4 separate regions of the Homo sapiens genome follow, and all the other regions are linked to region 1. The links are contacts of gene promoters, found by promoter capture Hi-C in human tissues and cell types (Jung and others, 2019). All regions are on one chromosome and are shown on one strand. The core of a region is centred on a gene start or on the middle of the fragment in contact, and the rest is flanking DNA. Distances in the headings are between cores, read along the strand shown. Region 1 holds the start of NTF3 (neurotrophin 3). Region 2 overlaps ANO2 (anoctamin 2). Region 3 has its middle 18 kb from the start of KCNA5. Region 4 overlaps ANO2 (anoctamin 2).

Evidence for each region. The method cuts DNA at HindIII sites, captures the fragments that hold promoters and counts their contacts. A contact is called where the count stands out against the background at its distance.
Region 2: a contact is called between a fragment that was not itself captured here and the fragment with the promoter of NTF3 in region 1, in 2 of the 25 tissues and cell types used here (H1 embryonic stem cells and mesendoderm cells).
Region 3: a contact is called between a fragment that was not itself captured here and the fragment with the promoter of NTF3 in region 1, in 1 of the 25 tissues and cell types used here (bladder).
Region 4: a contact is called between a fragment that was not itself captured here and the fragment with the promoter of NTF3 in region 1, in 1 of the 25 tissues and cell types used here (aorta).

Annotation. Positions count from the first base shown.
Region 1 is chr12:5,430,658-5,433,357 of GRCh38, forward strand. NTF3 (neurotrophin 3) reads left to right here and starts at 1,451. Exons shown (of 2, transcript NM_001102654.2): 1 at 1,451-1,685. The coding sequence starts at 1,668. RefSeq lists an enhancer at 2,268-2,700. The HindIII fragment of the contact is 6,917 bases long and covers 1-2,700 here.
Region 2 is chr12:5,710,860-5,713,559 of GRCh38, forward strand. All of the region lies in intron 14 of ANO2 (anoctamin 2), which reads right to left. Among named protein-coding and RNA genes, the nearest start is that of ANO2, 230 kb to the right of the region's middle. The HindIII fragment of the contact is 3,942 bases long and covers 1-2,700 here.
Region 3 is chr12:5,060,303-5,063,088 of GRCh38, forward strand. No RefSeq gene overlaps it. Among named protein-coding and RNA genes, the nearest start is that of KCNA5, 18 kb to the left of the region's middle. The HindIII fragment of the contact is 3,669 bases long and covers 1-2,786 here.
Region 4 is chr12:5,814,046-5,816,883 of GRCh38, forward strand. All of the region lies in intron 7 of ANO2 (anoctamin 2), which reads right to left. Among named protein-coding and RNA genes, the nearest start is that of ANO2, 130 kb to the right of the region's middle. The HindIII fragment of the contact is 5,930 bases long and covers 1-2,838 here.

The sequences.
Region 1 (2,700 bases), core at 201-2,700:
TGCAGTTCCGATGTTTAACCAAATTCTCAAGCAATTTCAAGGTATTTGGATTTTTTGAACCTGGGCCCTAACCGAAACGCGGAACGGCTTGCTTATTAGACACCTCGAACGACAGGGCAGGGAGGAAACGGGATACTCGCTGCCCTTCCCAGTCGCGCGTGAGTCAAAAGGTCCTGGCAGGAGATGATGTGAGGAGCGGCTGAAGTGGCAGGGAGGAAGGGATGAGGGGCTTGGAGCGGAGGTCCACCACGCAAGGACTCGGGAAGCGGGCAAGTGGGCAAAACTCTGCTTCCGGGCTCTCGATTTCTCGTTGATCACTAAGTGGTATTTTTCCCCCTTCTCTCGATGGCAAATGGGCGAAATCAAGATGACTTAACTTGGTAAATTTAGAGAGAACGGCTCGGAGCAAGTGAGGTCTAACGGGCAGCTAAAATTATCTCCAAATAAGAGATTTTGACCCCCTCCCCCTATCCTCTCCTCGAATGTATCCACCGGTGGGGAAGTGAGCGTCATTACTTTCGGGGCGCCACGAACAGGTTTGTTTGTTGCTCGCCTTTCCTGCTTCTCGCGCTGTCCCCGCGTGCAGACTGGTGGGTGCTGGGCGAGTGATTAGCTGCAGGGCCCCATCCTAGTTTGGAAGGAAGGGGTTTAGAAGTTGGAGGATGGGTGAAATGGGAGGCTGCGATCCATCTCCCTCTCCCTTCCACACTCAAGCTCCCGCAAACACGCGCGCGCACACACAGCCCCTCCCTAGTCCCTCGGACCACCCGCCCCCACGCCCCTCTACCTTGACCTCCCTTGACCGCCGACACAGCGTCCTGGGTGCGGGTCCCCGGGAGCGGGGAGTTCGCCGGGGAGCGATTGTCCTTGGGCGTGTTCGTGCTGTGGGGTGGGGGGAGGAGTGGCGGGTGGGCTTGGTAGGGGGTGGGGAGAGATCTGGAGCTGGAAGGGTCTAAGGTTTGGAGGAGGAGTTTACGCCTCAGACCTGATCCTCCTGAGGAAAAAGGCAGGAAAAGGCCCTGATGCCTTGTAAAGAAAATCTTGAAAGAAAAAAGATCAAAAAGAAAAATTTCAAGAAAAAGAACCACTAAGAAAGGCTGAAGACACTAACATGTAACCTGTTACGATACATTTAACGTTTCGTTTTTTCCTGGATCTCTAAAAGGGAACTCAAGGGTGGGGGTTACTGAAGAATACTACAGATTTGGAAGTTTTTGTTGCTGTTGTTGTTTGGTTTGGTTTTGTTTTTCAAGAGGGGCCAGGAGAAATGACCCCTTCCCCGCCACGGGTCCCGAAGTGAGGGCGGGGGGGGGGCTCTGGGGCGCGGGCGCGCGCGGCGCGGCGCGGGCCGGCGGGGGAGGGCGGCGCGGCGCGGAAGGGGTTAAGGCGCTGAGCGCGGAGCCATCTGGCCGGGTTGGCTGGTTATAACCGCGCAGATTCTGTTCACGGGACTCAGAGTTGAAGCTCCTCTCCCTTCCGAACAGCTCCGCGCACCGCCCCGCGACGCAGCCCGGCGCAACTACTTTCTTCTCTCTCCTTTCTTTCTTCCTCTCCTTTTTCCCCTGCTGGGTAGTGGCTGCGGCGGGGTGGGGGAGACTTTGAATGACCGAGCTCGCGTCCACCTTTCTCTTCATGTCGACGTCCCTGGAAACGGCCACACGGATGCCATGGTTACTTTTGCCACGGTAAGGGGAGGCGGCGGGCACCTTGGGTGGGCAGGTTTGGGGATGGGGGTCCACGTGGGGAGGGATTTTCCAGTGGACTGGTGCGGGGGGCCCCAGATCCGCATCCCGCCCCACCCCCATCGCGCCGCGCTCACTCACTTTCCCGGGCTTGTGTCTTCCCCAAAGTTTGCGCTGGGATCTGCTCAGGCCGAAGCGCAACCGCAGCCACCCCGCTACACACACACACACACACACACACACACACACACACACACACACACACACAGACACGGACACCCTTCTCCACCTCCTCCCCTCTTGTCCCTCGGCTGCCCAAGAAGCTTCCCTCAATCTGGGAAAGTGATCAGGTTTAAGGGACCTGGATTGGAAAGGGTGGGGGCAGAAGAGGGGAAATGGGGACGACGAAAGAGCAGGAAAGAGATTCAACAGAATCAACCACCCACCACTCCCAACCGACCCGCCTGCTCCTCCGAGAAAGCTCCTAGCGCATCCTATAACAAAAGGGGGTGGCAGACAGAACTCCGGGCGGGGAGGTGCCGCGGCAGCTCCCCTGCACACGCCCTGCACTCTGCCGGCCGCTGAGCCTGATTCTCAGCTCGCCCCAGCACCACTCTGGCCCGGGCGTGGGCTGGGGGGAGGGGACGCGCAGCTCAGGACCCGGAACCTCGCGTTCCAGTTTTGGGAGTTGGGACTCACTGCCACGCGCCGCGTACCTGCGTTGGAGTTCCCCGAAAGGGTTTTTTCAGAAAAGACCTCGCGCCCCGGGCTCCTCTTGGCCAGCGCCCACCCGGTGGCCACCCCACCCTGGGCCTTTGCGCAGATGTTGGAGCTCCGTACGCAGCCCGCACATCTGGGACCCCTCCGGGGAGCGGCGGGCACCCGGGCCCGGCCATCCCAGGGGATCTCCTTGCGGTATCGTCCAGCCTGTTCTCGGACTTTGAGCGGTGGCGTGGGAGGCCGGGAGACCTGGGCACCCGCGCAGCCAGCCAGGTCGGAGTTTAAAGGTCCCACGACG
Region 2 (2,700 bases), core at 45-2,544, 280 kb after region 1:
CATTTTGAAATTGATCCCTGGGCCGGGCGCGGTGGCTCACACCTGTAATCCCAGCACTTTGGGAGGCCGAGGCGGGATCACGAGGTCAGGAGATCGAGACCATCCTGGCTAACACGGTGAAACCCCGTCTCTACTAAAAATACAAAAAATTAGCCGGGCGTGGTGGCATGTGCCTGTAGTCCCAGCTACTCAGGAGGCTGAGGCAGGAGAATGGCATGAACCTGGGAGGCAGAGCTTGCAGTGAGCAGAGATCGCGCCACTGTACTCCAGCCTGGGCGACAGAGCGAGACTCTGTCTCAAAAAAAAAAAAAAAAATTGATCCCTAATGTTGGAGGTAGAGCCTGGTGGGAGGTGTATAAGTCATAGGGGCAGATCCCTCAGGAATGTCTTGGTGCCATTCTCATGGTGATCAGCAAGTTCTCACTCTATTAGTTCATGTGAGAGCTGGTTAAAGAGACTGGGACCTCCCTCTGCCCTCTCTTGCTTCCTCTCTTGCCATGTAACAAGCCCGCTCCCTCTTCACCTTCCACCATGAAAGCTTCCTGAGGCCTCCCCAGCGGCCAAGCAGATGCTGGTGCCATGCTTGTACAGCCTGCAGAACCATAAGCCACATGAATCTCTTTTCTTTATAAATTACCCGGTCTCAGATATTCCTGTATGGCAATGCAAAACTAATTCATACAGAGGCCCAGAGAATAAAAATTGCAGGTCTCATATACGTAAGACACTTTAATTTACTGACCAGTTCCCCAAGACCTGCTCCTCTTTTTGAAATCCAAGCTCTCATTTGAAATATGGGGAATCCAGACAGTGCCTGTACATGCTCAAAAATGTGAAACTGCTCCCTTTCAGCCACTTGGGAACTTTAAAAATAATGTGCACGCAATCATCATACATTAGACAATACAGACTAGAATGTAGATTAACGAGTTTGGGTTCCTCCCCATGATTTGTAATATTCCAAGGCCCTCCTTTGGATATTCCTTGAAATCAATTAGCCTAAAAATGTACTTCTGAAGCAAACAAAACTGCAGAAACAGACTTCTTGACTGAACAGGCTTTTCAGAGGTCATGGTGTCCAAATCCTATCTCCAAGCACACGTATATCAGCCCAAGTTAATGATAAGGACCTACTAACGGCCCTTAGGTAGTTATTTCTTACATTTAACCAAAATGTTGTGCCGAGCTGCAGTGAGGCCCTGTGCTAGAAGCCAAAGAAACAAGGTCAAACAGAAGCTCTCAAAGATAGTTCATCTTGAAGGAAAGATAGGAGTATCAATTAATGCTTTAAAACATCTATAGTAAAATTTCTCCTAAAAGGAATATACAGGTTGCTACAGGGTAGTAAGCAGTTGAATTGTGCTCCACCCACTAAATGATAGGCCCGGGTTCTAACCCCAGGAACCTGTGAATACGACCTGACTTGGAAAAAAAAAAAAAGTCTTTGCAAATGTAACCAAGTTAAGGATCTCAAGATGAGATCATCATGGATTTAGGGTAGGCCCTGAGTCTACTTCCCAGTGTCCTTGTAAGTGACAGAGGGGAGAAGAGACAGATACAGGAGAGAGCCATGTAAAGATGGAAGCAGCGATTGGAGTGGTTTAGCCACAATTTAAGAAATGCCTGGAGCCACCAAGGGCTGGAAGAGGCAAAGATGGATTCTCTCCTAGAGACTTCAGAGGGAACGTGGGCCTGATGACACCTTGACCTTGGACTTCTGGCCTCCAGAACTATGAGAGAATGAACTTGTGTTGTTTTAAGCCCTCCCGTTTGCAGTCACTTGTTGCAGCAGCCATGGGAGATGAATACAAGAGCCAAGAGCTAAGCCTGCCCAGAGAGTGAGAGATGACCTCCCAGAGCAGATGTCATTAGCCCTAAGTTTTCTAGGACAAGAAGGAGTGTGCTGGATAGAGAGAGGGAAAGCAGGTTCCAAGCAAAGAGGCTTTTGCATGTGCACAGCCACCAACGCATGACACACCAAGAGACGCTCAGAGAGCTGCCAGGAGCTGGGAAATGTTCGGCAGAAGAGGCTCATGTCAGGGAGTGGGAGGTGAAGTTGGAGAGGTGGGCCACATAGAGCCTTGTGGGTAAAGCCAAGAAATTTGAAAATAATCTCCTAAACTCTGGAGAGCATGAGAGGATTTTAATCAAGGGAGTCACATAATCAGATCTGCATTCTGGATGGATACCTCTGACACAGTGTGGAGAATGGACTGGAAGGGGGCCTGACAAAGGAGGAGAGACCAGTTAGAGGGTCACTGAAGTAGGCCAGGCAAGTGGTGATGAGGCCCTGAACTCAGGGGATGAGCAGGAAGGGGTAAATACCAGAGATGGTGAGTGGTTCAACCCTGCCATGGTGCTCGTCGGGTGTGGCAAGTAAGAGGAAAGGAGCAATTCAAAACAGCTCCAAAGTTTCTGGTGTAGACAACTGGGTTGTTCAAAAGTGGTGTCATTTAACAAGAATGAACCACATGCATTTATTCTTGTTTTACTTCTTTAACATTATTTTTACTCCACGTATATAGATATGAGATAAACTTTAGTGTTTAAAGTTCTCTGTGGGTCTCGAAGTTCTTTAAACATTCCCTTCCAGAAAGCAGAGGGCTAAGTGATGGTTCCTGTTTGGAGGAACTTTGGCAGGTGGCTAAGGGCAATGCTAAATCCCCCCTACCCTGGGTGCCAACATTGTCATCGGCATTG
Region 3 (2,786 bases), core at 208-2,707, 370 kb before region 1:
GTAGCAGGAAGGAGAAATCACAGCTGCAGAAGCCTGGTGAGGAGTAGACGGGAAACACACTGGGAAGAGAGGGAGGGGCTGTTGTTGCTTGAGCAGAAGGTTGGCAAGCATGTGAGACTGTTTGTGGGAATTTTGTGAGCCAAATTTGGGAAGTCAAGTTGAGGCAGGCTGTGGTAGGCTTTGAACAAACTGAGGAATTTTGAACCGATGCTATACTTTAGGTGAAGACAGCTGTGGAGCTCTCATGAGAATTAAGGCCAGATGTGGTAGCTCACGCCTGTAATCCCAATGCTTTGGGAGGCTGGGGCAGGAGGATAGCTTGAGGCCAGAAGATTGACACTGACCTGGGCAACATAGCAAGACCCTATCTCTCTAAAAAGTAGAAAACTTAGTCAAGCATGGTGGCTTGCACCTGTTGTGCCAGCTAGTGCAAGGGATGGGAGGATCTCTTGTGCCCAGGAGATCAAGGCTGCAGTGAGCTGTGATAGGGTGACTGTACTCTAGTCTGGGTGACAGAGGGAGACCCCATCTCTAAAAAATGGAAAATAAAGCAGAGGGGAATTAACATAATGAAAGTGGTATTTTAGGAAGACTGGTGAGAATGGCATGTCGGAGAGCTGAGGCAGGGAAACCAGAGATAAGGTTTTGTCGTGGTGGAGGCAGGAGGAGGCTCCCACTCCCCCATCTGCTGCTCTGCCTGAGAAAGATTTCCCCTCCTCTCTGCTCACCTCCATTTCCGCACAGCTGCTGATGTTCCCCACAAATAGGCCTTCAGAGTGCTCTATCCAGCTCCTGCTAGCCTGTGGCCTGACTCCTCTACACCAGGGGGCCACGACCATGTCCAGGGTTGCCTGGGAGCACTCAGCAAATCCAAGCAAGCACATTTTCATAGCCAGAAGGAAGCCTGCCAATGTGCTGCCATCACAGGGAGGTACAAATATTTTGCTCTCTTACTATAAATGCTGATGGTGATTCTAGAAACAACTTGGATGTTTTAGGTCATAATTTATTTCTCCGTCCCATTCTGGGAAGGAAGGGAAGTTGTTGCCTCTTGTTTTAAATGGGAGACCCAAATCACATATTCAGTAATACCATGCTTATCTTTTGCTGGAAATTCACATGCTCGTGAAGGGCAGTGAGATGTTATGATATTTTTCCCTCTACGAGGTAGTTAGGGCTCCTGGAAAAGGAAAGGTTACTTTTACCAGGAGAGAGGGTGCCAGCTCCCTTGACCCCAGACCCAGGTGATACACCTATGCCAGATGGGAGTGTGTATGGGCATGGGGAGAGGGATGGGACGAGGGCTCTGGGGTATCTGCTGTCCTGTCATCTCCACATCTGAGGGATGGCTTCAGCCTCTGGAAACTGTGTCCATTGGATCTGACAACATGGGATGATCTCAGGAGTTTATCCAACCAGACAACCACAGAATCAGAGACTGTCAGAGTTGCAAGGGGTCTCAGAGTCCAACAATGGCAGTGTTCTCAAATTTCAGGATGTGTAAAAATCACTTGGGATGCTTCCAGAAATCAAGCTTACTGGGCCCTCTCCCCAGATCTTCTAGCTTACTGGGTCTCGGGAGTCTGCATTATTAGTTGGACCTCTTCATTGGAAGCACTAATGAATCTTGTCTGATTAAGCTCAGCAGGCAGAATTGCTCCTAGTACAGTAGGTTTTTGGAAAGCAAAGAAGGAGGCGGAATGACATCCTAGTGAGGGTCATCTGGTCGATCTGAGTGCTAAGCTCCAGCTCCCTATGGGGCCTTATGGTGGCACTCACACACTCTGCGCCCCTTCAGAAGGATTTCTCCTTACACCTCTTCCTTGAATATCCATGCCACCACCCTTACAATTTTGGCCTTTCTAGGTCCTTGACTAAGGAGTGAAAATATTGACAACTTTCTATTATTTTATAGAGGCTCTTATTTCAGATTATCTCCCTTTTAAGAAAAATGGATAGCCACTTTTCCATGGCTAGAGGTGACAATTTTCAATCATTTTAATTATACCTAACACATACACAGTGTTACCATGTACTATTATACATTCATCCCTTGTAATAACGCTGGAAAACTGGTGTCCTATTATGATTCCCATGTTACAGATAAGCTGGAACCCAGAGAGGTTAAGTAACTTGCCCAAGTTATATGGCAAGTCATGAATTACCTGGGATTGAAGCTTAGGCATTCTGGCTGCAAAGTTTGTCCTCTTCCAACCGTTGTATTTCACCTGAACTCTTCTTCTTTGGACAGGCTCTGAGTCCATGAACTGACTCAAGTGTGACATGCTAGACCTCTGGAGTTTTTTCCTCACTAAAATAGACTGCTATTGGGATGTCCACTTAATATCTTTTGGTCCTACATGCTTTAAGATCAGTTCTCCACTGCCAAAGGTCTCCATGGTTTATGTCCTGATTCCTTCAACAAGCTCATTGTCTCTAGTTATAAGGTCACTATCTCTAGGCATAGCCAAAACTTTTCTTAACAGTTATACTGCAGTTAGAAAATTATTTTTGTCTTAACTCTCAAAGTTGCCTCCTAGGATAAGTGTAAGGCATAGAACCTTTCCTCTATTTTACAAAAGACAAAATTAAAACTTCTCCCTTGGTTACCCACAATCTGCAAGCAAACTGTAGTTACCTAATATTTATTGAGCATTTATATTTGCCAGAGACTGTTTTAAGTGTGTGGTTTTGTTTTGTTTTGTTTTTGTAGAGACAGTTTCATTATGTTGCCCAGGCTGGTCTCAAACCCCTGGGCTCAAGCGACCTACTTGCCTTGGCCTCCC
Region 4 (2,838 bases), core at 83-2,582, 380 kb after region 1:
ACAGGCTGCTGTGCTCTCTGGCTTCCTACTGCCATCAGCAGTATTGAGACCCCTGGCCTTCTGCCTAAATAGTCACCTGCTCAAGGTCACCTCCTCTACCCAATTCCACGTTGCAGTGACCTCTCTATCTTTCTGCAGGTCTAGGGATGATAAGAGCTCTACTATTGTTAATTCCAGGTTACAACGCCGTCCCTGGCATTCCCCAACTCCCTGCCAATCCCTTTGTAAATGGTTTCTCTATACATATGCCCACCTTGAATTACCCTAATTGGGGTGTGCTATTTGTTCCTATTGGGACCCTAACTGGTTATCTGGAATTGCCACCACCATGTCTTCTGTGTTATTTGCTTTCCTTGCATGTATCTGTCTTCTCACAGCCATGTGGCTTGCTCCCTGTTTTCCTCAAATATTACATCAGGAAGACCTTCTCCGACTACTCTATTTAAAATACCTTCCCACTCCCACTTCATTTTCATCTCCTTTATTTGCTCTATTCTTTCTCCTGACCCTTATCCCTACACGACATCCTATCCATTGTATTTACTTCTTGGTTTATTTTCTGTCTTCCGTAACTAGAAAGTAAGCCCCTTAAGGGCAGGAATTTGTGTCTGTTGGATTCACTACTCCATTCCCCAGGTCCACAACATGAATGTCACATAGTAAGTGCTCAGTAAATACGTGTTGAATGAGTGAATGGATGTTATACTGGGAAGGGCTCAGCTTCCACCTCTTCTGGGAAACTTTTTCCAATAACTTTATCCATTTCCTAATTAAATTAGTTAAAAAGCAATGACAAAGAGTCAAGAAACCTAAGTTCTAAACCCATTTCCAAAGTTCTAGCTGTGTGTATGCCAGTTAATCTCTCTGTTGTGAAGTTAATTAACATCTGCTGAAGCTACTTTGCTGGCAGTTTAAAGGATCAAATGAGATAATGAGCGTTAAGGTGTTTTGAAAAACATACAACTGCAAGCATGCAAGGAGTCCTTATTACTTTGGTGACAGTAACACCTCATTTATCAGAGGCCTCTTATCTGGTTATCTCAGCTCTCACAACAGAAAACCCAGAAACAAGAAAAAAATAAATGAGCAGCTAAAATAGATCTCACAAAACCTACTTTCTAATGCGATGTCCCTTTTCCACAGCAGAATCCTTCAGACCTCCTGCCATGCATTTTACACTCTCTTTACCCAAAATTCTAATGAGCTTGTTTTTCCATCTCCCACACTGCAAAGTGAAACTGAGATAGCAAAACTCGGGGAGGGAGGTTACCAGAGTCAAGAATTCAAGAAATCAGAGCAGTGTGGGGCAAACAATCCTAATAATGCTTTGATAATTCTTGAGAGAACATGAAAATCATTATGTTCTTAATGATGATCTTGAATAATCCAGAAAATTTGTCATACGCCTTTATGTGGAGAATATATGTAGACATGTTCTACATAAGACGCCTTTATGTGGAGAATATATGTAGACATGTTCTACATAAGCAAGCAGGAAATTGTGTGATAGACTTTAGAAAGATTTCTGTACAGAAAGATATTGCTGTAGGCAGCAAGAGCTACACCCCTGACCATATTCCCCCTTTCACTTTGGTTCAAGGTTAAATTTGCAGTTCAACTGTAGAAACTAGAAGACATTATGGTTTGCATATGTGTTCTATTTTCTTCCTCCTAGTTTTGACATTCTATTTTAATTTATTTTCTCTGGTTCTTATTTTTCAATTTATTTTTATACTATGCTGTCTTATTGTTTTTCTTGTAAGCTACCCCAGAAATTTTGTGGAACAAGGCAGGAATATAAATATATCACTACATACTACTTGTATATAGGTTAAAGCTTTGTAAAAGTAGGCATTCAATAAAAACGTATTGTCTACAAAGAAAAAAGAGACATTACTAGATAAACAGGAGTGTTTCCAAGTTATTACTATCTTTAGTATCTTTTCTATTTTCTAATATTTAAATTGGGTACAATGGGAAAGAGAATTAGCTTTGTAAGTTGGTTGCAAAAGAAATGACCATACAAAAGATAATCTGAGGGTGAAGGATCAATGAAAACACCTACGATTCCAAATCCAGTCCTGTTCTCCCTTTCTCTCTCTCTCTTTTTTTTTTTTAATGAGGAAACAACCTTCTGGAGGAATATAAGCCGATTCTAGTCACTCATGCTTCTCTTCCACCCCTTATAAGCCAGAAAGAAAGGCAATAAAATCTAAATTTACCCTGTGGCTCAGGCCTCCATATTATCTTGGGGCCTCATGGAGTTATCACATTCCTCATTTTTTTTTTATCTTCTAAATAAGATTGGTAAGTTCACCAAAGAGCTTAGAGGGCACTTGGTCTTCATGGGCAGAAGTCAACCCACTGGAAATCTGGCCTTTGGGTTCTCCTCTGCTGAGAAGTAGAGTTCAGTCACATGTCTCTTGTTACAAAGCTAGTAAGTCCTCAGTGGCTACTGTGAAGTTAACAGACTCTAAAGACTCAGCCTAATTCCACTCCTACTCTGTAGCATCCCAAAGGTATTGGAAATACGATTAGAGCAAGAGTACCCAAGTTCTAGACTCATTTCTGACTCAAGATGTAACCCTGGGCAAGTCACGTATCCTCTTTGTGCCCATCTGTAATTGGAGATGATCACTCCTGACATACGTAAGTTTCCTGGGAGCAATGATTTACATTGATACTTAGACATATAGAGACATACACATGGACATTAATTGCCTCCTCCCCTGTGTCCCAACTGCACTCTGTATGTATCTCTATTATAGCACCTACCACATTGCCTCATCACAATCTGTTTCCACGTCTGTCTGCATGGCTAAACTAAGAGCCCCTCAA